7 separate regions of the Homo sapiens genome follow, and all the other regions are linked to region 3. Evidence: promoter capture Hi-C in 16 types of primary human blood cells and fetal thymus (Javierre and others, 2016). All regions are on one chromosome and are shown on one strand. The core of a region is centred on a gene start or on the middle of the fragment in contact, and the rest is flanking DNA. Distances in the headings are between cores, read along the strand shown. Region 1 has its middle 4.0 kb from the start of IBTK. Region 2 overlaps IBTK (inhibitor of Bruton tyrosine kinase). Region 3 holds the start of CYB5R4 (cytochrome b5 reductase 4). Region 4 holds the start of NT5E (5'-nucleotidase ecto). Region 5 has its middle 6.8 kb from the start of SNORD50A. Region 6 has its middle 3.3 kb from the start of SYNCRIP. Region 7 overlaps NT5E (5'-nucleotidase ecto).

Region 1 (3,947 bases), core at 193-2,692, 1.6 Mb before region 3:
GGAGAATACCCTGAGCCCTAGGAGATCAAGGCTGCAGTGAGTCAAGATCACGCCGCTGCAACGAGTCAAGATAACGCCACTGCACTCCAGCCTAGGCAACCGGAGTGAGATCCTGTCTCAAAAAATAGTAATAAATAAAAGTTAAAATTACCAGGTCTCGGACAATTTGTGGTAAGCATTGGGGATCCAACAGTGAACAAAAATACATGTAGACCCAGATATTCCCAAGCATAATAAATTGCAACGTTTATAAGTATTAATCTGATAGATTTATCTGACTTCCAAAAGATGTGACACATGAACTAAAGACTGAGCAGAAGATAACTCAGATAACTAGATAACGAGGAGATAAGTAGATGAAGCAGGAAAGAAATAACATTCCAGTCAAAGGAATGTAGAATTGCTCCCCTTTTCCCAGGAAAGTTAGATGCTTTCAAAAGTACTTACTGGTTATTTGCAAGACAAAATATTAAAATAATTAGGAAATAGTACAAATGAAATACAATTAAATGAAAAATATATTGTAGATGTGGTTAAGGGAGGAAGAAATCAAAATGAGCCATTTTGTTTGATTTTTAAAAAAATTTTGTGTTTACACATGAAAGAATAGGTCAAAATATATCTACAATGATTGTTTCTATGGTGGGATTATGGGTGATTCTTAATTTCTATCATTTTGACTTTTGTAATTTTCATTGCAATAATTTAAATATTACTTGAATGATTAAAAAAATCAAAGTTTGGAAAAATAATTGACTAGAGTTTCTAAAGTAGTTTTATTTTTTAAAGTAAAAAATAAAAAAACCAGAGATGACTTTAAAAGATTGCAGTGATGGGCCAGGCACAGTGGCTCATGCCTGTAATCCCAGGAGGCCGAGGCAGGCAGATCACGAGGTCAGCAGATCGAGACCATCCTGGCTAACACGGTGAAACCCCATCTCTACTAAAGAATACAAAAAAAATTAGCCGGGCGCAGTGGCGGGCACCTGTAGTCCCAGCTACTCGGGAGGCTGAGGCAGGAGAATGGCGTGAACCTGGGAGGTGGAGATTGCAGTGGGCCAAGATAGCGCCACTGCACTCCGGCCTGGGTGAAAGAGCGAGACTCTGTCTCAATAAATAAATAAATAAATAAAAAGATTGCAGTGATGGGCGGAGGGAGTAGAAAAAGAATAGTACAGGCATCAAGAGTGGAGCACTGCAGAAATATTTCTAAGCCACATGGCATCTATAATAAACTCCCTAAATACCATTTTTCCAAAATAAATTGGTAGTACTATCCTTTATAATTAAAAGTACTGACATCATTATGTGTATTTTGCTGTCTTTCAAGTTGTATAGGAGTAGGAAATGACAGTGCTGGTGGCAGAAGAGAAAACACTAGAATTTGATTAGAAACCCAAACCTGATTAGGTTCTACAAGAATGATTTTTAGAGGAAGATCAATAGTGCAGCTGGCCTAGAGATGACTGGAACCTTATTGTTTAGCCTCATTCTCTTCTACTCCACACCATCTTCTACAGGACATCACTGGTTGACTACAACTTTCTGGCACACAAATTAAGTACCTCACATAAATCACATATCTCACCTCAGGTTTGCCATTAGGGAAGATAGCACTGAGCCTATTATCTCAAGCACAAAAGTTCTAGGCACCTGACGGACTCATGTCGGCTTGGATTAGGTGAGGAATCAAGGATAACATGATTGACATCCTCTATTAGAGTCATGGTTAAAGCAGAGTGAAGAGTAGTTCCCCAAAAGAAAGCAGGGTGAGGCAGACAAAACAATAGGCCACATAGGGTGTTTGTGTTCTTCTGGATTCAGGTGTATGGTCCCAGCTGCGTTCTTCCTATAGAATCATTATCTTTCCAATCCTTACTTACAGAGGGTCACCTCCCCACATATCTGTGAAGACTTTCCGGATGGCCTTTCCTAGCAATTATTCCCTTTATACTGCTTCTATCACTTAGTCATATAATGTATCACACTGTTTTATTTTTAGATTTGTTAGTTTTACTCCTGGAGACAAGGATTCTAGAGGCAAGGTGCCCAGATATAAAGTTTTACTCCTATGCTTACTATCTGTGAGATGTCAGGCAAGTTACATAAACCCTCTAAGCCTAGTTTCCTCATCTCTGAAATAGGGTTAATAGTATTGCTTTCATAAAGTTCTTAAGAAGTTTAAATGAGATTTTATATATATATATAATATAATGTATATATTATATATATGAAGCTCTTAGTACAACTCTTAGCAACTTAATTGACATAACCTGAAATGAACTGCCTGGATGAATCTGTTTCCACCAAATTAAAGGGTGGGATGGGGAAACAAAGAATAACCCACAAGGTGGCAGTATTTGAATGTAACTTTAGAATCTTATGTTTAAAAGCATAGTCCACCAAAAAAATCTGAAATTCAAGGCAAATACTGGAGAAATTCAAGGTAAATTCAAAGCCTAGATGAAATAAGCAGAACTTTGAGATAAATCAAACTTATAAACTTAACAGGCTTAGTATTCTATTACAATCAGAACACTGAACTCCTAAAAGTCTTCCCTTTACGATGACTGAAAAATGTATCATTTGCCTTTCTCAGCCCATCTTACTGAGAATTGCTCCTATTCCTTTTCTACTTAGCTAAATAATTAAATCTGTGTTGTCACTATTAGAAAGAGAGAGAGAGAAGAAAGAAAAAGAGTGAGTTTGATACATAGTGGTTGGAGCCTTCTCTTCATGCCATAAATCCCTAGGACTGATAGAAAAGACATACTTAGGCCGGGTGTGGGGGCTCACACCTGTAATCCTAGCATTTTGGGAGGCCAAGGCAGGCAGATCACCTAAGGTCAGGAGTTTGAGACCAGCCTGGCCAACATGGTACAACCCCATCTCTATTAAAAATACAAAAATTAGCCGGGCATGGTGGCAGACACCTATAATCCCAGCTACTCGGGAGGTTGAGGCAGGAGAATCACTTCAACCAGGGAGATGGAGGTTGCAATGAGCCAAGATCACACCACTGTACTGCAGCCTGGGCGACAAGAGCAAAACTCTGTCTCAAAAAAAAAAAAAAGAAAAGAAAACATACTTAACATACTTAAACTTATCAGTGCATTGGAAAACAAGAACCTTGGCCATTGAAGGTCCAGAACTTATGAAGAGTCCTTGAAAAGTGGATAAGAGGCTAGATTGGGAAAAAGTAACAGCCTGTGGTGTTGTGATATATATATAGGTTTTCATCCACAGCTCTTGGCTCATAACTCCCATAGCCCTTGTTACAGTCATTTGTTATAAAGTTGGGTATGTTAGACCTCAGGAACAGGCCTCTGACCTTCTCCTGCCCTTCTTCCATAGTTTCCGCACCTTTCTGACTCTGGGTCTTAAGACCCTCCCACGAGAGAGTCCCACCCTATACCCTGCGGGAAGGAATGCTGATGTCCTGAAGCTTCCATAAAAATCCAAGAGGACAGAGTTCATGAGCTTCCAGATAGGTGAACACATGGAAATTCCTGGAGGGTGGCACACACAGGGAGGGCATGGAAACTCCACGTCCCTTCCCTCATACCTCACCCTACGCGTCTCTTCATCTGTATCCTTTGCAATATCCTTTTTAATAAACCAGTAGGCCAGGCGCAGTGGCTCACGTCTGTAATCCCAGCACTTTGGGAGGCCGAGGCAGGCGGATCACCTGATGTCGGGAGTTCGAGACCAGCCTCACCACCATGGAGAAACTCCGTCTCTACTAAAAATACAAAATTAGCCAGGCATGGTGGCAAAAGCCTGTAATCCCAGCTACTCGGGAGGCTGAGGCAGGAGAATCGCTTGAATCCGGGAGGCAGAGGTTGCAATGAGCAGAGATCATGCCATTGCTCTCCAGCCTGGGCAACAAGAGCAAAACTCTGTCTCAAAAAACAAAAACAAAAACAAAAACAAAACAAAAAAACAGT
Region 2 (3,848 bases), core at 602-3,101, 1.6 Mb before region 3:
ATCACTGGAGTTCAGGAGTTCCAGATTACCCTGGTCAACGTGGCAAAACCTCACCTCTATAAAAAAAGTATAAAAATTGGCCGCACGCAGTGGTTCATGCCTGTAATCCCAGCACTTTGGGAGACCGAGGCAGACGGATCACCTGAGGTCAGGAGTTCGAGACCAACCTGACCAACATGAAGAAACTGCATCTCTACTAAAAATACAAAATTAGCTGGTCATGGTGGCTCATGCCTGTAATCCCAGCTACTCAGGAGGCTGAGAGAAGAGAGCCTCTCAGCTTGAACCCGGGAGGCGGAGGTTGCGGTGAGCCAAGATCGCGCCATTGCACGCCAGCCTGGGCAACAAGAGCGAAACTGTCTCAAAAAAAAAAAAAAAAAAAAAATTAATTGGGCATGGTGGCATGGGTCTATATTCCCAGCTACTTGGAGGGCTGAAGTGAGAGGATGGCTTAAGCTCAGAAGGTTGAAGCTGCAATGAGCCGTGTTCTTGCCACTGCACTCCAGCCTGACTGACAAAGCGAGACCCTATCTCAACAACAACCACAAAAATAATGATAATTTCCAGAGACCCTATCTCAAAAATAACAAAAGGAATAAAAATTTACATTCCTTTTTCCTTCTACCTCAATGCTGATGTTACTTTCTGAGTATATATCAATTACTTTACAGTAGTTACAATTATAACAGTCCTCCCATTTTAGATTGTACTTTTATATAGACATAAATATGGATTGAAATTTTAAAATGCAAAATAAAATTGTTCTGAATATGAAACAAAAAATATCCAACATATACCAAAGTAAAATTTCTTTGCAGATAGCCACACACAAATAAATTTCCCCACTACTTTAAGAAGAATAAAATTTCATTAAAATTTTCTAAGCTAAGCTGCACCTTAATGGAATACATTTGTAAAGTTTTTTTTTTTTTTTTTTTTGAGACGAAGTCTAGCTCTATCACCCAGGCTGGAGTGCAGTGGCAAGATCTCAACTCACTGCAACCTCCACCTCCCAGGTTCAAGCAATACTCCTGCCTCAGCCTCTAAGATTGCCTAGAGGAGCTAGGATTGCCTGTAACTAGGATTGCCTGCTACCATGCCCGGCTAACTTTTGTATTTTTAGTAGAGACGGGGTTGTACCATGTTGGTCAGGCTCGAACTCCTGACCTCAAGTGATCCGCCTGCCTCGGTCTACCAAACTGCTGGGATTACAGGTGTGAGCCGCAGCGCCCAGCCCATTTGTGAAATTTTCTTACCAGTATTCTCGAACTCCTGACCTGAAGTGATCCGCCTGCCTCAGCCTACCAAATTGCTGGGATTACAGGTGTGAGCCGCAGCGCCCAGCCCATTTGTGAAATTTTCTTACCAGTATTCTTGAATACTACATGAGTTGGTCTATCCTTCATTACAAGATCCAAAGCTGACAAGCCTTCTTTATCTTGAATATACAGACTAACACCATGCTAAAACAAACAAACAAACAAATACATAAATATATATATATTATTAATTACCTATATCATCAGTAACTTCCTATTTTATTATTATTTTTTTTTTTTTGAGACAGAATTTCGCTCTTGTTGCCCAGGCTGGAGTGATGCAATGGCGCAATCTTGGCTCACCGCAACCTCCACCTCCCAGGTTCAAGCAATTCTCTTGCCTCAGCCTCCCAAGTAGCTGGGATTACAGGCATCCACCACCACGCCCGGCTAATTTTCTATTTTTAGTAGAGACAGGGTTTCTCCATGTTGGTCAGGATGGTCTCGACCTCTGACCTCAGGTGATCCACCTGCTTTGGCCTCCCAAAGTGCTGGGATTACAGGCTGAGCCACCACACCTGGCCGACTTCCTATTCTTATGTATCAAAAAGTCAGATAATCAACCCCATAAATACACTGAAAAAAAATTTAATAATGATTATCTCTCATATTCACACACATTTTTCTCTCACATACTGCAGAGAATAATTAAGAAAAATCACATATCCGACTCTTGCTGGAATAAGGAAGAATCAGAAAATGTGAAGAAATAAAAAATTAACATTTTAAATAAAAATTAACTACATGTGAACTTTTTTTTGCAGGGGGGACGGAATCTCGCCTTTGTCGCCCAGGCTGGAGTGCAAAGGCACGATCTCAGTTCACAGTAACCTCCGCCTCCCAGGTTCAAACAATTCTCCTGACTCAGCCTCCCGAGTAGCTGGGATTACAGGTGCCCACCACCATACCCGGCTAATTTTTGTATTTTTAGTAGAGATGGGGTTTCACCATGTTGGCCAGGCTGGCCTCGGACTCCTGACCTCGTGATCAGCCCGCCTCAGCCTCCCAAAGTGCTGGGATTACAGGTGTGAGCCACCGTTCCCGGCCATGTGAACATTTTTAACAATAAAGCATTTCTGATACCCCTTTAATACCCCATAAATACACTGTCCCTACAAGTCCCTAGCTCTGGGTTTGTGTCTGTGTGGGAGTGCATCTGAACATAAACATTTAACTCTTCTTGCATTTGAGGAGCCACACTCTGCCGGGCGCAGTGGCTCATGACTATAATCCCAGCACTTTGGGAGGTGGGTGGATGAATCGCCTGAGGTCAGGAGTTCAACGTCAGCCTGGCCAACATGCTGAAACCCCATCTGTAGTAAAAATACAAAAATTAGTCAGGTGTGGTGGTGCATGCCTATAATCCCAGCTACCTGGGAGGCTGAGGCAGAAGAATCACTTGAACCCGGGACACAGAGGTTGCAGTGAACCGAGATCGCGCCACTGCACTCCAGCCTGGGCAACAAGAGTGAAACTCCGTCTCAAAAAAACAAAAAAAAATTATCTGGAGAAGGAGAGACATAAAATTTCAAATCAGTTTATTTAGTTTATACTTACTCTATTTTAGTTTGAGGAATTTTTTCTTATTTATAATTTGACAGTTAATTGTTGATGACCTGTTTATTCTGCGAGGTATCTGATATCCCTTCAATATATTTTGTTTATGTTACCATAGTTGGTTCCAGTTGCAGGCAAAAATAACTCTAATACATCAATATTTATCAAGCATGTTCCTATTTGTTCATTAATTTTTGTTGTTATTGTTTTTTTTGGTTTTTTTGAGACGGAGTCTTGCTCTGTCACCCAGGCTGGAGTGCAATGGCGTGACCTCGGCTCACTGCAACCTCCATCTCCTGGGTTCAAGCGATTCTCCTGCCGCAGCCTCCCCCGTAGCTGGGATTACAGGCATGTGCCACCACGCCCAGCTACTTTTTGTATTTTTAGTAGAGATGAGGTTTTGCCATGTTGCCCAGGCTGGTTTCGAACTCCTGACCTCAGGTGATCTGCCCGCCTTGGCCTCCCAAAGTGCTGGAATTACAGTTGTGAGCCACCATGCCCGGCCATTGTTCATTAATTTAATTGCTTGGTTTTGGTTTTGGTCTATCTCCCCCTAGTAGAATAAAAACTTAAACAAAGAAGGGATTCTGTCTTGTTCACTGCAATATCCCTAGCACCTGGATTACTGCCTGGCACATATCAGGCACTCAAAAAATATTTGTTCCAAATACCTCACAGACAGTATATTATTTAATCCATATAACCTATGATTCTGTGAAGTCTTCTGTTTACAAATGGGAAAAATTAAAGCAAGTTCTTCCAGAATAGTAAGTAAACCACCAGTATAAAAGAGCAATGGTTTAGCAACAACAGATACAGCAGGACTCCACAAGCATAAACAGTCTTTACCAGCCATGCATCCTGTCATGGAATCAAGAAGCCCCAAAAGAGCTACATAAGATAATCTGTCTCTATTCCAGCTTTTTGTAGGCAACAAGTTTCTGCTAAGGTTTTATATCTTTGGCATTAAGA
Region 3 (4,222 bases), core at 348-2,847:
AAAAGTGGAGTCTAAAGGCCAGAAGTTGATAGCATCTTCCATTTCTGTACAAAGGGGAGCTAAGAAATTTGGAAAGCATGGAACATTCTTCAACAATATTAACTTTTCCTTGCTCTGGTTCTCTGCTTTTGATATTCTTATGTAAAAGTTTTCTCACGAGAAGTGAAATAAATCTCAGTGATTAGTTTTTCTTGTGTAGACTCTAGAAGAATATGTCATCATTTAATGAGAGAGAACACAGAAGCAATTTGCAAAGTCAAAGTAATACAGTTAATTATAGTCATGAGGTTCTTTTAGCTCAAATTCAGTCTTCTCATAATAAGCATTTCAATTGCAAATAAAAATGGATAGAGGTGAATGTCATAGGTGGCTACCTTATTTGAATGCTTGTATTTGAATGGCCACATATAGTCACACACTTTTTCTTCTGATTCTGCAAACATAACCTTGATTTTTTAGGCACTTTAAGAACTAAGTAGTTAAACAGAGAAAGTTTAAAGCATGACAATATGTTCAGAGTTAGGAAAAATTAGTAATTAAAGGAGGATGGGGAGGATTATTTAGAACTATGTTTCTTCTCCTGAAAACTTTCTCCCTTATTGGATTCTACTCTCAAGATCTATGTGTTCCCCAAGGGACACACAAAACAATCAATCAAACAAACAAAAACCATCAGATTTTGAGCATTAGAGCCTGGTGTTTACCTGCACAGTGTTGGTCCTTTTCCCATTAATATGTTGGAATAGCACAAACAGCCACTGCCACTTATTCAGTACCTAATATTAATCAGGCACTGCAGTATGTAGTTTACACATGATCCTTTAATCTTTAATAAACCCATTATGCAGATGGGGAAAATGAGACTTTGAGATACTAAAGTAACTTGCATAAGACAGCTCAGTCATTAAGTGCAGGGATGGCATGCAAACCAAATCTGACTTTTAAACGTTACTTCATCACCACAGCTGGAGGTGAGCTGCATCAGTACACAATTCCCAGTGAAGACAGGAAGTTACATAAGGAGGGAGAATTTGTGAGTGGGTGAATAGAGCAGAAGGTGACTTTACTAACGTCTTTCGCGCATTCATTAGCCCTCAGCATGCTTAAAGGTGAAGTTTAAGGATGATTAAAGGTGAGGTTTTCTTCTTACCCCACAGTAGTGGCTGTTGACATTTGATATTTTTGCTCTTAAAGGTGTGAGATGCTCTTTGCATTACAGCCTAGTGCCTTACAGGAAAGAATTTCAGAGAAACTAAAATTCGTTTTAGTCCATATTTCAAGTAGTGTGTTTTAGTCCATATTTCAAGTAGTGTGATGGTACTGCTTAACAATGAACAGACATTGCTGTTCCGGGTTAACAGGACTAAGAATTTGTTCCCACATTCGGTCAGCACCAAGGCTAAGGAACAGCTTCACTCTCTAATCTTTCCACGAAATAGCTGTCACCTTGCTCCGGTGCTGAAGTTCGGGATGCGGAACTAGCTGAGCATGCGTACTTCCTCCCTGCCGGCCCTCCCTCCGTCCCGTTGGCTCCGCCCTCCGCGGACGTGCTGCGTCAGAATGCGCCTCACCCCTGGCGACCCCGGAAGTGGGTCGGGGGCTTGGCCTCTGCCCGGCCACAGAGCCGGAGCTGGAGGTGCTGTCCCGTCTGGCGGCGATCCCCGGGCAGGGCCCGGGGCCGGGGTTTGAAGATGCTGAACGTCCCTTCCCAGTCTTTCCCGGCCCCCAGGTCGCAGCAGCGTGTCGCCTCCGGGGGGCGTAGCAAGGTAAGCGGGTGGCTCCGTGAGTCTCTCCCCTCGCTGCGTTTCGAGCTCTGGCAGTGTGTTCTCTTCTTCCGCCCCAACTCCCAGCTCCTGCACCCCTCTCTAAGCTGTCGTTCCCTGCTGTCCTTGCCTGCAACCTCTTTCTGATCCCACTTTGTCTACAGTCCCTAAACTCTCCTTACCTCCTCCCTTTCCCCTAGCAGTCCCTCTTCTTTCTGGTCCTTTATCCCGCTCTATCCGTTCCCTTCCTCCAAGTCCTTTCCCGCGATTTAAATTTATATGACAGAGCCAGGCACTGTGTTTGCGGTATTATAGGCTCTCGGTATTAGCCGCCTTCCCTCAACCTCATCTTCTCCCTGGTCTTTTGTTCTTCACTGCCTGAAGGAGTTGTACCACATCACTCGATGTGGGTTCCCTCGCAGGAGGGAAAGGCTTGGCAGTGGCGACAGTGACCGTCCGTGCAAGGATGGGGACTTCTGGAGTTGGGGAGCTAGGTCAGGTTTACAGACACTATCCAAGACATACTGCCTTTCTTTCTTCCTCTGGTACCTGATTGTTTTGTCATTGCCTTTTCTACTAGTATCACTTGCTAACTTCGAAGCAAATATAATAATACTCTTGAGTTCTTGTTGAGCACAGTTGCTGTTAGCAACAGGTGGAATACTGTACAGATATATTTTATATTTGCAGAATTCAATAAAAATTGTGTTCTTTGTTCTTTTGCGAATGTTGTTTGTTCCTATTTGTTAGTTCCTCATTCTGTAACCATATCTTTATCTTTCGTTTGTGACACTTCCACTTAACTTGGGCCACTCGGTTAACTCTTGAGTCTTAGCATCGTTTGGAACCCTTATCGATTTTCTTATTTTTCTCCACTTAGACCTGGCGTTCTGATTCTAGTTCAGAATGAATATAGGTTCAGGGATCTGTGGTTTTCATTAGCTTTCCAGAGATTTCTTAAGTACTTACGGGTGGCCGTGTATATTCTCAGTGCTTTGCATGTATTAACTTTAATTTTCACAATTATCCTTTGAAGTGAAAGCTTTTATTGTCTCTATTTCGCAGAAAAGGAAACTGGCTAAGAAATATTGCCCTAAATTGCGTAGGCTTGTGTTGTGGTTCTGCTGTGAAATTTCATTTACTGATTCATATATCAATCATCTAGCCATCCAATCATGTATATTTTTCTCATTGGTTTTTGACCTATTTCTTGAAGCTAAATACTTGACTGAATAACAGTCTTTCCAGAAAGAATCTCTGAATTAGAATATGAGTTACTGCCCTTCTTCGTTAAAAATACCAACTGTGTTCTTAGCATCCATTTAAAGGAGAAAACTTAGAAGCAAAGACAAAAAGTCACACAGGGGGCGATGGCAAAGGTGAGTTTTTGGTCCAAAAAGAGAACAAAATAAGATTATTGTGCAATTCTAAGGAAAAGTCAGACTCCAGTCTTCTTCCTCTTTTCTTTGTGAAACAAGATGATGCTGAGAATGTAAAAACTGAGTCAGGTTTGGATGAAATGGGTAGAGGTTGAGAAAATAGAACCAAGTTGGGAAGGTCGTGTATTATACAAAAGGTTCTCAAATAGTGTTGTTTCATTCAACAGCATTTAGTTATAATATTGATGAGAAAAAAAATTCGTTTTGGCCAGGGCCACTGTCTTTGGAGTTTGCATGCTCTGTGTCTGCGTGGGTTTTCTCTGGGTACTCTGGTTTCCTGCTACAGCCCAAAGATATGCAAGTTAGGTTAATTGGTGTGTCTAAATGGTCCCAGTCTGTGTGAATATTGGGTGTGTATGAGTGTGCCTTGCCATAGGATGGCATCCTGTCCAAGGTCGGTTCCTGCCTTGTGCCCTGAGCTACTGGGATAGGCTCTGACTACCTGTGACATTGAACTGGAATAGTTGGGTAAATAATTATCTTACTTGTTTTTTAATTAATCTTTCTTAAATGTATATATAGCTAACATTTCTTTCAGTGTTTAATATTAGAAGTATTTTGGTCTTTATTTAGAAGTCTGGTGATGTTTTTGTGACCAGAAATATGCTGCAGGAAATTTTGTTTGTCAATTAACCCACGGTAAAATTAGTTTCGTTGTACATAGTTTAGTTTCCAAGCACCTAGTGACTAGCTTAAGTGAAGGCTTATTGTAATTTTTTAAAGGCACAGATTTTGAAGTGAGAAAGACCTAGATTCTTTCACCATATCTGCCAGTTAATCTCTTTGAGTCTGTTTCCTCAGATGTAAATGAGAATAACAGTACCCATTTTATAGGATTGTTCATAGGATTCAATGAGATAATGTTTCTCTTAGCACAGCCTTGGTAAGCACCCAGTAAATGCTACTTGTCCTGAGGCTTTTATTCAGATCTCACAGACTTGAGTGTGACACAGAATATGCACTCAACATATGATAGTTATTATTTCTATTAATACTGGTAAACAAATACTTATTGAGAAC
Region 4 (3,916 bases), core at 136-2,635, 1.6 Mb after region 3:
TTCGTATCACTGTTAAGTTTTTAGTTTCATTGGTTATATAAGCTGTTAACATAAGGCAATATGGGTGATGGGTATGTGGGAACTCCCTTTATTACCTTTGCAACTTTTCTGTAAGTCTAAAATCATTCTTTTTTTAAGTTAAAACAGCAAAACTACCAGTTCTTTTACCTGCTTCTAGCAGGTGCTCAAAGAGGGACAGAGCAAAACCTTGCAAAGCATGACATTAGAGGGTGTCCCAGAAGCAAGGGTCTTCTGTAGCCCCAGGCACTGCTGCTCCCAAACTGCATGGCCTTTCTTGGCAAATGATTTACAATCTCCGAACCTCAGGTCAATGTCTTAAAAACGGGCACAGAATGTCTTTTCAACAAATGGTACTAAGAAAACTGGATATCCACATGAAAAAGAGTAAATGTGGACTCATACCACATATGAAAATTAACTCAAAATGGATTAAAGGTCTAAGAGTTTAAATTATAAAACTCTTAGGAGAAAACATAGAGGAAAATCTTCCTAACATTGTATTTGGCTATGACTTCACTGCGACACCGAAAGCACACGCGACAAAATAAAAATAAAATAAAATAAAATAAGACCAGAAAAGCAAAGAAGGGCAGCATCCCTTCCCGTCCTGATAGCTGCCGGATTTTACCCCAATCGTGTTTCTGCTTCCAGGAGCTGTCCGCGCGTCGCCTCTGTTTTATCACTAAGGTTTTAATTGTGAATAAACAAGGAACTGGATTCGAATGATTTCTTAGTTTCTGAGATTTTTTTGTCTAAGCATCGTAGACTTCGTGCGTTCTCAACCCAACAGGAAGCGTCACATCTCAGTGAGCTTCGGCTCTCACAGCCCGAAACTGCAAGGAGCTCCTCTGCCCGGCCTCTCTTTACTCCTCCTCTCTGCCCCTCAGCTCGCTCATCTTTCTTCCCGCCCCCTCTCTTTTCCTTCTTTGGTTCTTTGAAGTGATGAGCTAGCGCAACCACAAACCATACATTCCTTTTGTAGAAAAACCCGTGCCTCGAATGAGGCGAGACTCAGAGAGGACCCAGGCGCGGGGCGGACCCCTCCAATTCCTTCCTCGCGCCCCCGAAAGAGCGGCGCACCAGCAGCCGAACTGCCGGCGCCCAGGCTCCCTGGTCCGGCCGGGATGCGGCCGGTACCCGCTCCCCGCCGGGAACAACCTCTCCACTCTTCCTGCAGGGAGCTGGTGCCAGCCGACAGCCGCGCCAGGGCCGCTCCGGGTACCAGGGTCGGATCGGGTGACGTCGCGAACTTGCGCCTGGCCGCCAAGCCGGCCTCCAGGCTGAAGAAGGACCCGCCCCGGCCTTGACCCGGGCCCCGCCCCTCCAGCCGGGGCACCGAGCCCCGGCCCTAGCTGCTCGCCCCTACTCGCCGGCACTCGCCCGGCTCGCCCGCTTTCGCACCCAGTTCACGCGCCACAGCTATGTGTCCCCGAGCCGCGCGGGCGCCCGCGACGCTACTCCTCGCCCTGGGCGCGGTGCTGTGGCCTGCGGCTGGCGCCTGGGAGCTTACGATTTTGCACACCAACGACGTGCACAGCCGGCTGGAGCAGACCAGCGAGGACTCCAGCAAGTGCGTCAACGCCAGCCGCTGCATGGGTGGCGTGGCTCGGCTCTTCACCAAGGTTCAGCAGATCCGCCGCGCCGAACCCAACGTGCTGCTGCTGGACGCCGGCGACCAGTACCAGGGCACTATCTGGTTCACCGTGTACAAGGGCGCCGAGGTGGCGCACTTCATGAACGCCCTGCGCTACGATGCCATGGTAAGACCCGAGCCCGCGCCCGGGATAGTAGTCCCGGACTGAGAGAGGAGCCGGGCTGGAAAAGCAGCGGATGGCAGAGTGTGGCAAGCCTAGGTCCAGGGCGCGGAGAGATGTGGGGATAAAGTGAGACTCCGGCCAGTGTGCCAGCTGGATGCATAGAAGTCCCTTGGACGATTCGTCTTAAACGGACGTTATTGCGCCCCCACTATGAGATGGGAGTATTTAGAGGAGCAGGACCCAGTCCTGCCTGCGAGGGGCTTAAGGTGGGGTGCGTAGAAGCACTGACAGTTATCCAGAGCTAGGGACTGAATCGGATCCCTCACGCAGCTCTCATTTACTGCTAGATCTTTCAAAGAATGCTTTATCTCAATCTAGATCTTTCGAAAAATGCTTTATCTCAATCTTATTGAAAGGGAAACCGCGTCGAAGAAGCTGAATAAATTAACAGGCACCATCCCCGCAAAAAGGGAGACGTGATAAGAATGGACACCAGATCTCTTTGACCCCGGAGCTTGAGAGTAATTAAGCTCACAGCTTTGGGGTAGATTCTCTGTTCAATTACCTTCTATGTGACCTTGAGCAAGTTATTTACTCTTTCTTGCCTCAGTTCTATCCTGTATAAAAATAAGGATTATAATTGTACATAGTGCACATAGTGTGGTCTCTATATTATTACCAGACACATAGTGTGGTGTCTATATATGTTGTTATTACCAGACACTATAATATAGGGTTAAGAAAAGGAAAGAAAGAAAGAAAGAGAAAGAAAGAAAGAAACTTCAGAGAGAGCCAAAATGTGGAAAGACTTGGGTTTCAAAGGATTTCAATAAAGTAGGTTTGGCGGCAGAGATTTAGGAAGAGTCCAACTTAAGAGATAATGGGCTCTTAAAACATGTGCAAAAGTTTAGTTCAAAGTCCCAAATGTTAGGTTAAAGGTAATGCCTTTTCTATTGCACTAAATTCTAGAAAGGGAGCAGAGGTGGTTGCACAGTAATAAATAAGTACAACCAAGATGTATATATGGTGGTTAAAAAAAAAATAAAACCACCACCCAAATTTAACCCTGTGTAAAAGCCTTGAGTAAAGGGATTCAGCAAGACTGTGGAGAAACTTGGGAGAAGAAAAAAGAGCTTTGGAAGAGGAAGAACTGAGAAATCTCCAGAGAAACGTCCAGAGAAATCTGTGAAGTCCACAAGTGTGGAAGGGAAAGGGAAGTGTGATTAGGCTGGGATACAGAAGGCTAACAGTACACTTTATATGAGAAGAGCTTAGAGGTCAGGAGAGCACAATGCTGAGGGGTTTGTTTGGTTTTATTTTCCCCTCTGGAAACTTGGAGAAAGGAGGACAGGAAAAGATGATAAGAGGGCACCATTGTTTGGTTTTAAAGGTCCCTCCCCAACCCCCCACAACAAGAAAGCTCATTTTAATGAGATGAGAGAAGGGGAGAAAGCTCCCTCCGTTCTGATGCTTTTGAGCTTATCAGGGACACCCTGCAGCAGAAATTCCAGCTGATCCTTCAGCCTTCAGAGTTGATGAGGTGGGGCTCACACACATCTGGATTTGAAGAAGAATCGTGGGTTTCAAGAACTCTGTGGTCTCTTAAGCATTGGTATTCCACAGCTACACTTCCCTGATACTTTGCACTCAGTAATGACAAAATAAATATTTGTAGAATTGAGTTGTTGCTACCCTGTGTCTCCACTTCCTCCCAGAAGGGTAGAATAAACTTACATGTGTTTGTTTTATTTTGCATATAAACCACGACTTTGTAAACTTTACTTTTTGTGACACTCTTTTCTCCACAATTGTGTGAACCCTTTTTAGTGGAAAAATAAGAATGAAGAATTCCTAGTTTTCCCTAATAATATTTCCCTCTTGTAAGTCTAGTTGAGCTCCTGGTGTTAATCATGGTATCAAATGTTTATGACAGGACATCTAGGTGAGGCCTGAGTAAACTGCTGTAAGTTACAGCCTATCTCTTCTGTGTTTGTTCAGAATCCTTTTTGTTGGATGAAATTACTTTCTTTCAAATTTTGCTCAAGAAAATTGAATTGGGTTCTGAGGAAAAATAGGCTACTTACGTAATGTTGGCAGGGGGTAAAGATTGGGAGCGGATCACATGGCAAGGTTAGATG
Region 5 (3,778 bases), core at 604-3,103, 1.8 Mb after region 3:
GCAACAAATCTCAGACATCAAATCATTTCATCCATAAATAACTCAGTATATTTGTCTAAAAGATACAGCCTCTTGAACAACAAAAAGAGCCACAATGCCATTATCACATCTAACAAAGTCCCAATTATTTTTTAATACATGAAATAGCCTGTGTTTAAACATATATCTCATAAATTCATTTTTTAAAACAATATTGAATGAGAATCCAACTGGGATGCAAACATTGAGAATGTTGATATATCTTTTCAGTTTCTTGATTTGTAGGTTACCCATTCATCTCGTTTGGTTGGTTTCTTTCCTTGCAATTTATTTGTTATAGAAATCATTTGTAGAGTTTTCCATAGTCTGGATTTTGCTGATTGTATCTTTGTAATGTAGTTTAACATATGTCTTTGTAATCTATAAATTAGTAATTATATCCAGAGGCTTTATCAAATTCATATTCATTTTTGTTGTTTTCAGACAAGAGTCTGAAATAGGCAGAGGCAAATTCTTTCTTCAGGGACATATAATATCTTATCACCTCTTTTTTGGATGTTAGCAGTCATTGATATTTATTGCCTATACATTAATTCATTAGAATGTTGCAAAATGATGATCTTCTAATTATGCCAATCTTTTTTCATTGTTAACTGGAATATATCAATAAAGACAAACTTTTTATCACCTTTTATTTGGTTATGTCAGTACAGTTGGTATTGGAAAGTCCCTTTATTTGCAGTTCTGAAACTGATGATTAGCATCCTTTAACACTTATATTAAATTCAGTTTTTTAAAGTATCATTCTGAATTCATAGATTTGAAGACATGTCTTTTTCTCTATTTTTTCTCTATTACACCTCAATAATAGTCAAATTTTCTATCTTTGGAAAGTGAGAGACTCTCCAAGTTTACTCCTGAGTTCCTTTTTTTTTTGAGATGGATCTCCCTCTGTCACCCAGGCTGGAGTGCAGTGGCGAGATCTCAGCTCACTGCAACCTCCGCTTCCCGGGTTCAAGCAATTCTCCTGTCTCAGCCTCCTGAGTAGCTGGGATTACAGGCACCCGTCGCCATGCCCAGCTAATTTTTGTATTTTTAGTAGAGATGGGGTTTCACCACGTTGGCCAGGCTGGTCTCAAACTCCTGACCTGAAGTGATCTGCCTGTTTTGTAATCCTTGCTGGGATTACAGGCGTGAGCCACCGTGCTTGGCCTCCTGAGTTCTTCTAACACAACTCCAGCAGTCTTGCTACCTGTTATAGCAACGTACAACAAGCTCATCTTGTACATTTCCTGTCTCAGATCTGTTTCCTTTTAGTGGTAAGTGGTATTTAGAGGCCACAATCTGGGCCCTAGGGGTAGGGTTCATAGATTTTGATGTGTATGAATCATACTTGGAGTTTCTGTGTTTTCTTTCACAGTGGTTCCCATTTGACTAAGAATGAAATCCTTTCAATGACCCATTAAGCCCTACATAAGCTGCAGGCCTTGCTTCCTTTCTCACTATGCATGCTCCTTCCTATGGGCCACTGCTATGGAAATGCCCTTTTCCCAGATATATGCACAGATCAATCTCTCACCCTCTGTTAGGTGAGAGATTGAGCTATGCACATATCTAAATCTCTGCTTAATTAATCTCAACTTTTCATTGAAGCCTATTCTGTCAACCCCATTTACTTCAATTGCCTCTCAGATGAGAGAATCCCCATTTGAAACTGCAACACTAATTATCTCCCCAAACCCACTCCCAATGTCTCATATTCTATTTTTTCTGTGTCATTTCTCATTTTTTAACATAGCTTATAATTTATTTATTATATAATGTCCTTCTCCTCTTCCTACAATGTAAGCTCCACAAGGGCAGAGGTTTTTGTTTGGTTCACTACTGTATCTTTAGTGCCTAGGATAGTACCTATACATGGTAGGCATTCAGGATATTTGCTCAATGAACAAATGAATGCAAACCTTGGTATATTTCTGAATCATCACACACTTAGTCTATCAGTATGGTTCAATCTCCTGAGGAACAGATTGAATTGAAAGCAAGCAATATCCTTCAAGAAAGTGAGCTACATCAATATGTGGGGACAAGTCCATGAATTTCAAAACTATCCTGACGTTTCTGGGCATGAGGCCAAACTCAGAACAATGTTTGTGTCCCTCCCTCCCTCCTTCCCTCCTTCCCTCTCTTCCTTCCTTTCTCTTTTTCTCTCCCTTCCTCCCTTTCTCTCTCTCTCTCTTTCTTTCTCTTGAGATGGGGTCTTGCTGTGCCTAGGCTGGTCTTCAACTCCTGGGCTCAAGCGATTCTCCTGCCTCAGCCTCCGGAGTAGCTGGGATTACAGGTGTGTACCATCAAGCCAGACTAATTTTTGTATTTTTAGTAGAGATGGGGTTTCACCATGTTGGCCAAGCTGGTCTTGAACTCCTGACCTCAAGTGATAATGCCCGCCTTGGCCTCCCAAAGTGCTGGGATTACAGGCGTGTGCCACCACGCCCGGCTGCTTTTTTTCTTTTTTTTAAGGGCTAGTCAGTGTACATTCACTTTCGAAAAAGAAATGTAACATAAACTCAGAATCTCCATCAGCAATGAAATTCAAGTCAGAATTACGATGTATCTCAAGGAGTACACCTTACTATTGCTCCAGAGTAGTTTACTGTGTTTAATGCTTTATGTTCTCATTGAAGCAATTAAACTAATCAACTATTAGCAACAATTCCCAAACTGTACTTTTGTTATTTATTTTGTTTTTTGAGACGGAGTCTTGCTCTGTCACCCAGGCTGGAGTCCAGTGGCACAATCTTGGCTCACTGCAACATCTGCCTCCTGGGTTCAAGCAATTCTCCTGCTTCAGCCTCCCAAGTAGCTGGGATTACAGGTGCGTGCCACCACACCCGACTAATTTTTGTGTTTTTAGTAGAGACGGGGTTTCACCATGTTGGCCAAGTTGGTCTCGAACTCCTGACCTCAAGTGATCTGCCCACCTTGGCCTCCCAAAGTGCTGGGATTACAGGTGTGAACCACCGTGCCCGGCCTTAATCAACTACTTTTATACAAAAGTACAGGTTAGGGCCGGGTGCGGTGGCTCACGCCTGTAATCCCAACACTTTGGGAGCCTGAGGTGGGCAGATCACGAGGTCAAGAGATCAAGACCATCCTGGCCAACATGGTGAAACCCTGTCTCTACTAAAAATACAAAAATTAGTTGGGCGTAGTGGCATGCGCCTGTAGTCCCAGCTACTCAGGAGGCTGAGGCAGGAGAATCACTTGAACCCGGGAGGCAGAGGTTGCAGTGAGCTGAGATGGCACCACTGCACTCCAGCCTGGCGACAGAGCACGACTCTGTCTTAAAAAAAAAAAAAAAAGTGGTTGATTAAAATTATTTGGTATAGGTGTGGCCACTCACATCAATAATCCCAGCTACTCAGGAGGCTGAGGCAGGAAGACCACTTGAGGTCTGGAGTTCAAGACCAGCTTGGGCTACACAGTGAGCTCTCATTTCACTGCTTAAAAAAAAAAAAAAAAGCATCTTGGTGAGGAGACTCACATTTGTAATCTCAGCACTTTTGGAGGCCAAGGTGGAAGGATCACTTGAGGTCAGGAGTTTAAGAGCAGCCTGGGAAACATAGTGACACCCCATCCCTATAAAAAGTAATACAAATCAGCTGAGCTTGGTGGCACATGCTAGAGGATCTCCTGGTTATTTGGGAGGCTGAGTGGGAGGATCCCTTGAGCCCAAGAGTTCAAGGTGGCAGTGAGCTATGATTAGGCCACTGCATTCCAGCCTGGGTGACAGAGTGAG
Region 6 (3,921 bases), core at 30-2,529, 1.8 Mb after region 3:
CTCCTGGCACAGTTTGAGCAACTTGAAACAGCACAAAGCTGCGTGGTTAGAACAACTTTGAGAAAAATGTCTGTGTTTCTTTTAAAAAAAACCTTGGCAACTAAATCTTCTGTGAAATGACGTTTCCTTTATAATCGTTTACTAGGTACAAGAAAGACAAGACAAAGGCATTTGAATTACAGACGCGATATGGATACTAATTTTATCCAGGGCAGCTGTAATGAAAAATAGAAACAATGTCCTTTTGATTAAAAAGCTTATTTTTAAGAGCTTACTGGTTCCCCAGATGAGCTCTGTGCTATGATAACAAATCAGTGGTTTGAGGAAAAGTTAGATAAACACTCTTCAAAGTGCACAAGCACATAAAATGCTAGATTATTTTCATAGCTACTTGGATCAGATATGAAGTATGTTTTAGCCAAAGCACCACATAGCCAACCTGTTTAGTAAGGATTTGAGATCTCCACCACCCCAGATTCCTTACTATCAAACATATGTGATATTCAGCTGCTTCAGCCATAGGGATTTTTGTTCACAATGCAGAGGTCGTGGTTAATGATATACATGAAAAACAAAATGTTTAATAGAAAACTATGAAAATAAGAGTCATACCATGGATTAAACAAGAATAAAAATTGGCCGGGCGCGGTGGCTCACGCCTGTAATCCCAGCACTTTGGAAGGCCGAGGCGGGCGGATCACAAGGTCAGGAGATCGAGACCATCCTGGCTAACACGGTGAAACCCCGTCTCTACTAAAAATACAAAAAAATTAGCCAGGCGTGGTGGCGGGCGCCTGTAGTCCCAGCTACCCTGGAGGCTGAGGCAGGAGAATGGCGTTAACCCGGGAGGCGGAGCTTGCAGTGAGCGGAGATCGCGCCACTGCACTCCAGCCAGGACGACAGAGCGAGACTCCGTCTCAAAAAAAAAAAGAATAAAAATGAGTCTGAAACATGTAACACTTTGTTTAGACCTTCCTGGGTATTAAAAAAAATTTTTTAAAGTGCCTTAACCTGGGCAAAGCTCCCAAATTAAAATCTCTAGCTGTTCTCTGACATCTAATTCCTTTCTCTAGCCACGCCCTCAATGTTTATGTGGGCTTTCTGGCACTCCAGATGGGCATTTCAAGAAACTGAGCACGTGATCTTCCCCCAGTCTTCCGTCTACAGAGTTCCCATCTCAATTAACATCCCCCACATGAATTGCTGGAGCGGATCATTCAAGGCACTTCCTTCTCTACACTGCCATATCAGTTAATCAAGTCCTATCAATTCTGTCTCCCAAATATATCTCCATTTATCTCTATGTTGCAACCACCCAGGCAAAGCCACCATCATCTACCACCTGTACTAATGGCATAGCCTCCTGATTCATCCACTCTTACAGCTGTCCTAATCTGTTCAAAGCCCAAGTCATCTGTCTTTCTGTATGACTCTCTGTCTCCTGTGTAGGCTCTCTCCCTCCCTTGACCTTCTCTATCTTAATTGCAAGTAAGATCCTATGGCGTGTCTGCTTAAAACCCTTCATTAGCTTCCAATTACACTTAGAACAACAGCCAAAATCCTTAACTAGATCAACAAAGCTCTCTAAGATCTGTCCCACCTGTCTCCCCAGCTCATCTCAGCCACTTTATGGCTTCAGCCTGGCCTTCCCTTGATTCTGGCATTTCTTTTTATTTGAGACGGAGTCTCGCACTGTCGCCCGGGCTGGAATGCAGTACGTGATCTCGGCTCACTGCAACCTCCGCCTCCCAGGTTCAAGTGATTCTCCTTGCCTCAGCCTCCCAAATACCTGGGATTACAGGCGCCCGCCACCATGGCCGGCTAATTCTTTTGTATTTTTAGTAGAGTTGGGAGTTTCACTATGTTTGCCAGGCTGGTCTCGAACTCCTGACCTCATGATCAGCCCGCCTCAGCCTCCCAAAGTGCTGGGATTACAGGCGTGAGCCACTGCGCCAGGGCTCGTTTTTTGGTTTTTTGTTTTTGAGACGGAGTCTCACACTGTTGCCCGGGCTGGAGTGCAGTGGCGGGATCTCAGCACACTGCAACCTCCACCTCCTGGATTCAAGCGAGTCTCCTGCCTCAGCCTCACGAGTAGCTGGGATTACAAGCACCCACCACCACACCAAGCTAATTTTTGTGTTTTTAGTAGAGACAGAGTTTCACCATGTTGGCCAGGCTGGTCTCGAACTCCTGACCTCAGGTAATCCACCCTCCTCGGCCTCCCAAAGTGCTGGGATTACAGGCGTGACCCACTGCTCCCGACAGAGTATTCATTAGTTTCATTGCTGTCTTTTCGTCCATGTAAGCTTTGAAACAGTGAGAAGATGCAGCCCTGTTGAGTTGGCAACTAATGAAAGAGAGGAATGTAGGCAGGCCTGTTTGGATTTTTTACTTATCCAAAATTCTTCCACCCAGTCAATGCCACACTGCCACACTGTTTTTTGTTTGTTTGTTTGTTTTGTTTTGTTTTTTGCATATTTTCTTCTCTTCTTTACTGCATTTTCTAAACTTCCTGCCATTAACATATATTAATTTTATAATGGGCCAGGGAACCCTTCAATTCACAGGGTAAAAATTCACAGCACACCATTACTTTTTCCATAGAACCATAAAAAGCTAGTGTTGAAAGAGACCATGGAAGCCATTCAACCTAATCTTTCTAGTAATCAAGAAAATTTTTGCACTATCTCTCACATCTTTTTTTTTGAGATGGAGTCTTGCTCTGTTGCCCAGGCTAGAGTACGGTGGTGCAATCTCGGCTCACTGCAAGCTCCGCCTCCCAGGTTCACGCCATTCTCCTGCCTCAGCCTCCGGAGTAGCTGGGACTACAGGTGCCCGCCACCACGCCCAGCTAATTTTTTTGTATTTTTAGTAGAGACGGGGTTTCACCGTGTTAGCCAGGATGGTCTCAATCTCCTGACCTCATGATCCGCCCGTCGCAGCCTCCCAAAGTGCTGGGATTATAGGCGTGAGCCACCGCGCCCGGCGGCACTATCTCTCACATCTTATTTTCATAGTAATAAAAAGCCTGCCCTATCAAAAATTAAAAACTTTTGTTCCAAGAAAGACACTGTCTAGAGAATGAAAAGACAAGCCGCAGACTAGGGAAAAAAAATAATCTTTGCAAAACACATATCTGATAAAAGGCTGTTATTCAATAAAATATACAAAGAATTCTTAAAACTCAACAATAAGAAAACACACAACCTAATTGAAAAATTGGCAAAAACGTTGATATCAAGTGTTAGGCAAATAAAAAACAAAAAAAAAATGTTTTGTTTTTTTTGTTTTGTTTTGTTTTGTTTTGAGAAGGAGTCTTGCTCTGTCACCCAGGCTGGCATGCAGTGGCATAATCTTGGCTCACTGCAACCTCCACCTCCTGGGTTCAAGCAATTCTCGTGCCTCAGCCTCCTGAGTAGCTGGGATTACAGGCTTCTGCCACCAGGTCTGGCTAATTTTTGTATTTTCAGTAGAGACAGAGTTTCACCATTTTGGACAGGCTGGTCTAGAACTCCTGACCTCAGTGATCCACCCGCCTCAGCCTCCCAAAATGCTGGGATTAAAAGCATGAGCCACCATGCCTGGCAAAAAAAAAAATTTAATGGGCAAAAAATCTAAACACATAGCCCACCAAAGAGGATGTACAAATGGTAAATAAGCATATGAAAACATGCTGAATATCATATGTCATCAGGGACTTGCAAATTAAAACAGTGAGAAAATAGCCAAGATATGAAATTAACCCAAGTGTTCATTGATGGATGAATGGATAACAGAAAATGTGGTATATATCACAATGGAATATTATTCAGACATAAAAAAGAACGAAATTCTGTCATTTGCAGCAAGATAAATGGAATCTGGAGACCGTTATGCTAAGTGAAATAAGCCAGACACAGAAAGAGAAATATCATATGTTCT
Region 7 (4,227 bases), core at 1,413-3,912, 1.6 Mb after region 3:
GGACGTGATGGTGAGGGAGAGGGAAGAGGGTGGGACTCCACCGCACCAGGGCTTCTGGCTTTATTGACTGGGTATATGGTGGCATCCTGGGCCAAGACAGTGAGTCACAGGGAAGAGGCTTTGAGCCTGGTAAGCTTGGGACACTTTTGAGACATTGGGAGGAAATGACACATGGCAGTTGACATACAGATCTAGACGTCAGGAGAAAAGTCAGGGCTGGAGATTTTCGGTTTACAGTTGAAGGTATGAGTAGGAATGAGATCATTTACTCAGTCCATCCCACCACATTGAGCACCATGAATAAGGGGCTCCTCTCCCCATGGGGCAAGAGAGGTGAAAAGACAGTCAAAGTCACTACTTTCAGGAGGATTAGGCTCAAGTTAGGATGGGGAGGTGGAGAAGGCATCAAACAAATAAATGAAAACTATAACTTCAGTTATTGCCAAGTGCTAGGAATATAATGTTGCTGTTAAACTGCAAGGTGGCTAACAAGTTGGATAGTCTTTCTTGAAGAACTGTAGAAACATTCATTAAAAACAAAATAATTTTATAGTTAAGCAAGAAAGTGATTGTACTATAACAAGGGAGACTTATTTCACCATAGGAAAAAAATCATAACATTCTAAGAATAGAAGGAAAAAATAACAATTACCCAAGCCTGCAACAACCTGTAAGACCAGATCAGCTTTTAAGAGGAAAGTTAATTAGATAACAGGAAGAGGTAAAAATGAGATCATCAGAGATGGGGGAAAAGGCAAATTTAGAAATTCTGAATTTAATAGGGGAGACAAGTATGTAGGAATATAAACACATTGTGCTTTCTCTGCACAAACACATTCACATGAGGATGTATACACAACCCTTGCAGGCACAGGTACTCAGTGAATGCCTGCGTGCCAAGGAGGGGGACAGCACTGAGCAGGAGAGGTGGCAGGGCCTGGTGGCCCAGGAGCACTCATATAGTCAGGAGACTGATATAAAAGAAAGATCCTGCTAACATGCCATTACAGAGTATGGAATGAGCAAGGAAGGAAGAGGGTGAGGCTGTAAGAGAGTGCACAGGCCCTCATTTAAATGGACGGGTCACCAGCCAGTACTTCATGCCTGTTCCTAGATGACCCACAAAGTGAAACGAAACTGGATGTGGTATTTAGCAAGTCTGAGATTTGCTGGTTTAAGTACTAAGTTAGCAAACCAGCCTTGGCAGCCAGAGCAGGTAGGGTAGGGGGCCCAAGGAGATGGGTGTATCCAGGAGGCCAATGGAGGAAGGAGAGGAAGGTTTTCTGGGAAGCCAGCTGACATGTCATGCTTTGTCAGTGGGGCCTCTGCATGGATTCCCTCCACTCCCCCCCAGCCCCCAACTCACTACGGGGAGCTGCAAAATGACAGACAATGGGTGGTTTTGTACCCAGCAGCCACTCCTCAACCAGTGAGGAATGGGAGAGAGATAAGAAGGTGGGAAACAAGGATTGCTTGTCACCATCCCTGCTCCTCCTGAAGCCCTGCGCTGGGAGCAGGTACAGAACCCGCTGAAGGTCACCTAATCATTTCACCATGGAGTTCTTCCCCAGATGTGAAACTGCTGGGACTGGAGCAAAGGGTGCCCAGAGCTGACTGGAGGAGGAAGCCAGAGCCACACTGGAACATATGGAGATGCTAGCTCCTGCCTGCTATTGAGGAACTTCATTTTCCCAGAAGAATTAGAGGACCACAGGAGTGCTTGGGAAGAAGCAATTGTGGCAACCTAGGTGAATGATGACCTAGGAGGTGAAATGAGGAAGGAGGCCTTTGGTCTCTGCCAACCATACATTTCAGGTTGCCTTTTGCTAAAGTCCTGCTGATGTTAATCATTCTCTCCAGCAGATCGCGGCTTGAATCATGGGGTCTGAAATGTGGGTTTATGAGAGAAAAACAACATGGAAAAATTGGGCAGAGGCTGGTAAATGTGAACATTCAAACCTGCCCCCAATCTGAGATGGTGGGACAGTGGACCCCTGGCCAGCTCTCCAGGTGTTGCGTATGCACATTGGCAAACCACCTTTATTAGGTGGTGTGACACCTGGGTAGCAATTCTCAAGCAATGTGATGATCTGAATGTCCCTGGGCCTGACCCAGGTGAGGAGGACACAAAATCATGCAATATGTCTCATAGAGCTTAGTCAGTTTTGAGAAATACTGGACTAATGTTATGTTTTTAAAGCACCTAATTCTTTTTCTCTTTTCTGTTTTATCTAGGCACTGGGAAATCATGAATTTGATAATGGTGTGGAAGGACTGATCGAGCCACTCCTCAAAGAGGCCAAATTTCCAATTCTGAGTGCAAACATTAAAGCAAAGGGGCCACTAGCATCTCAAATATCAGGACTTTATTTGCCATATAAAGTTCTTCCTGTTGGTGATGAAGTTGTGGGAATCGTTGGATACACTTCCAAAGAAACCCCTTTTCTCTCAAATCCAGGTATTTTCTACTTTTATAGCACTCAATGCTTGAAAATAGATGCCCTAAATCACAGCTTGGCATTATATTTATGGACTGTAGATAAAAGTAGGAACAACTGGGTAAATAGTGCACTAGAATAACACTGATAAAAGCAATCTGGTAAATTCTATGCTGTTGTTCCAAGGTACTTCTTAAAGAGATGTCCTCTTCTGCTCAGTGAACTTCTTTGTTGACAAAAACAGTATCTTTGTCTAATTCAGTGCTTTCAAAATGGGAAGAGGAGACAATGTATAGCCAGTGCTAAACAGTACAGTTTCATTTACTAGAGAATGAGAGCCTCAAAACTCACTGCCCTTCTCCTGTGGAGCCATGAGCACAGAGCCAGAGTTTTACCTCAATTTACCTTATTGCTCCTTTTCTAGGATGATTATTACATGTCCAGCTAACTCACCTTTCTCGCTTTTCATTATTCATCTCGTTTTAATGACATTCTTGTATCTGACTTTCTGGGAAATATATATAGTGGTCTTATGATATATATGGATATATATAAGTGTATGTATATACATTTATAGACATATATACACATATGTATATATAATATATATAATCTTAAGACACACACATACATATATGACACATATACATACATACATATAAGACACACACACATATATAATCTTAAGACCCTTCAAGAAACTATTTTGAGGCACTTTTATAAGAAAACTTTTTGGAATATTTTGGCAATGAGAACAAAAATGACATTTTCTTTAAATTATCCAAATTAAATGTGTTTCCATATTTGAAGAAAAAAAGGGAAAATAGGAGCCAGGGTTATCTAGAAACATGAGTTTTCATTAAGAACTAACTGATAAAGGACATATAATTGACAATTCAAAAATATATATTTACTGTTGTTGTTGTTATAAAATAAATAAGTCCAGGCCATTGGAAACAACAACAGAAAAGTCAGCTGTGTTTGCTGAGAGCAGCAAGCGGGTCCTGCAGCTGGCATAGAGGCAGAGCTGGAGGCAGGGTGGAGCGGCTGGGGCTGGAGTGGTCAGTGAGAAGAGTGAGAGAACTTGCTAAAGAACCCCCCAACCCCACCCTGGGGTCAGGTTTACTTGCTGAAGAACCTCCTTGGTCCCCTTGAGAGCTGTGTAAAACATCCCTGGGGCACAGGACATTCCAGAAGTGAGGTCAGAGTCACAAGCTAGGATGCAGGCTCCATGAGGACAGAAACCTCTGCTGTCTCACTATTGCCCAATGACTGTGCACAGTGCCTGGCATATGATAAGTCCTCAGGAAGCATTGCTGGGATGAATACATGAGAGCAGGAAGGTATAGGGGCCACAGTCACAGAACAGCAGATAGTTCCATTTCCTGGAGCATGGGTTCTGACTAGGAAAAGCTAGAAAGTTGGATCAGGGCTAGATTGTAGGGCTGAGAAGTTCAGGTGTGATTTGGAGGAAAGCATTGTCTCTTCTTTAAAAGGCACCCATAAGGAGGTAGGAGGTGCAGGTCTTGGTGGAAAGGCACAGCAGCTCCAGAAATCAAACTGCCCCAGCTGGGACTCTGACCAGCCCTTTACCAGGCTGTAACAGAGAGGGGATCAAAAGTGACACTGCTGTTTCCAGCAGCTGCTGGAAGAGAGGGCTGCATTTTGCAGGGCCCAGTGTGGGGGGAAAGGGATGGGGTGGAATAGAATGTTTCCAGGAGCACTGCTTCTTCCAAGACTACAGGCCCAGCGGCCTGGTGTGGGTTCTTCCTACAGTTCTTTGACCCTA

Evidence for each region. The method cuts DNA at HindIII sites, captures the fragments that hold promoters and counts their contacts. A CHiCAGO score of 5 or more calls a contact.
Region 1: a contact is called between a fragment that was not itself captured here and the fragment with the promoter of CYB5R4 in region 3, in 4 of 17 cell types (total CD4 T cells, total CD8 T cells, non-activated CD4 T cells and 1 more). The highest score is 7.2, in total CD4 T cells.
Region 2: a fragment that was not itself captured here is called in contact with the fragment with the promoter of CYB5R4 in region 3 in 1 of 17 cell types (total CD4 T cells); the score reaches 7.2 in total CD4 T cells.
Region 4: a contact is called between the fragment with the promoter of NT5E here and the fragment with the promoter of CYB5R4 in region 3, in 2 of 17 cell types (naive CD8 T cells and naive B cells). The highest score is 9.0, in naive CD8 T cells.
Region 5: a fragment that was not itself captured here is called in contact with the fragment with the promoter of CYB5R4 in region 3 in 1 of 17 cell types (naive CD4 T cells); the score reaches 6.3 in naive CD4 T cells.
Region 6: a contact is called between a fragment that was not itself captured here and the fragment with the promoter of CYB5R4 in region 3, in 9 of 17 cell types (total CD8 T cells, naive CD8 T cells, fetal thymus and 6 more). The highest score is 12.0, in total CD8 T cells.
Region 7: a contact is called between a fragment that was not itself captured here and the fragment with the promoter of CYB5R4 in region 3, in 1 of 17 cell types (naive CD8 T cells). The highest score is 7.5, in naive CD8 T cells.

Annotation. Positions count from the first base shown.
Region 1 is chr6:82,249,779-82,253,725 of GRCh38, forward strand. No RefSeq gene overlaps it. Among named protein-coding and RNA genes, the nearest start is that of IBTK, 4.0 kb to the left of the region's middle. The HindIII fragment of the contact is 4,001 bases long and covers 1-3,443 here.
Region 2 is chr6:82,232,793-82,236,640 of GRCh38, forward strand. IBTK (inhibitor of Bruton tyrosine kinase) reads right to left here. Exons shown (of 29, transcript NM_015525.4): 3 at 1,367-1,463. Among named protein-coding and RNA genes, the nearest start is that of IBTK, 13 kb to the right of the region's middle. The HindIII fragment of the contact is 6,415 bases long and covers 1-3,848 here.
Region 3 is chr6:83,858,092-83,862,313 of GRCh38, forward strand. It overlaps CYB5R4 (cytochrome b5 reductase 4), which reads left to right and starts at 1,598. Exons shown (of 16, transcript NM_016230.4): 1 at 1,598-1,766. The coding sequence starts at 1,692. The region is part of intron 3 of RIPPLY2-CYB5R4 (RIPPLY2-CYB5R4 readthrough); the gene reads left to right. RefSeq lists a silencer at 1,669-1,718. The HindIII fragment of the contact is 3,476 bases long and covers 1-2,803 here.
Region 4 is chr6:85,448,698-85,452,613 of GRCh38, forward strand. NT5E (5'-nucleotidase ecto) reads left to right here and starts at 1,386. Exons shown (of 9, transcript NM_002526.4): 1 at 1,386-1,781. The coding sequence starts at 1,443. RefSeq lists a silencer at 1,179-1,448. The HindIII fragment of the contact is 6,289 bases long and covers 1-3,916 here.
Region 5 is chr6:85,668,642-85,672,419 of GRCh38, forward strand. No RefSeq gene overlaps it. Among named protein-coding and RNA genes, the nearest start is that of SNORD50A, 6.8 kb to the right of the region's middle. RefSeq lists an enhancer at 569-1,090 and a silencer at 3,356-3,556. The HindIII fragment of the contact is 8,939 bases long and covers 1-3,778 here.
Region 6 is chr6:85,644,259-85,648,179 of GRCh38, forward strand. No RefSeq gene overlaps it. Among named protein-coding and RNA genes, the nearest start is that of SYNCRIP, 3.3 kb to the left of the region's middle. The HindIII fragment of the contact is 2,050 bases long and covers 255-2,304 here.
Region 7 is chr6:85,464,825-85,469,051 of GRCh38, forward strand. NT5E (5'-nucleotidase ecto) reads left to right here. Exons shown (of 9, transcript NM_002526.4): 2 at 2,236-2,458. Among named protein-coding and RNA genes, the nearest start is that of NT5E, 17 kb to the left of the region's middle. RefSeq lists an enhancer at 920-1,009. The HindIII fragment of the contact is 5,061 bases long and covers 133-4,227 here.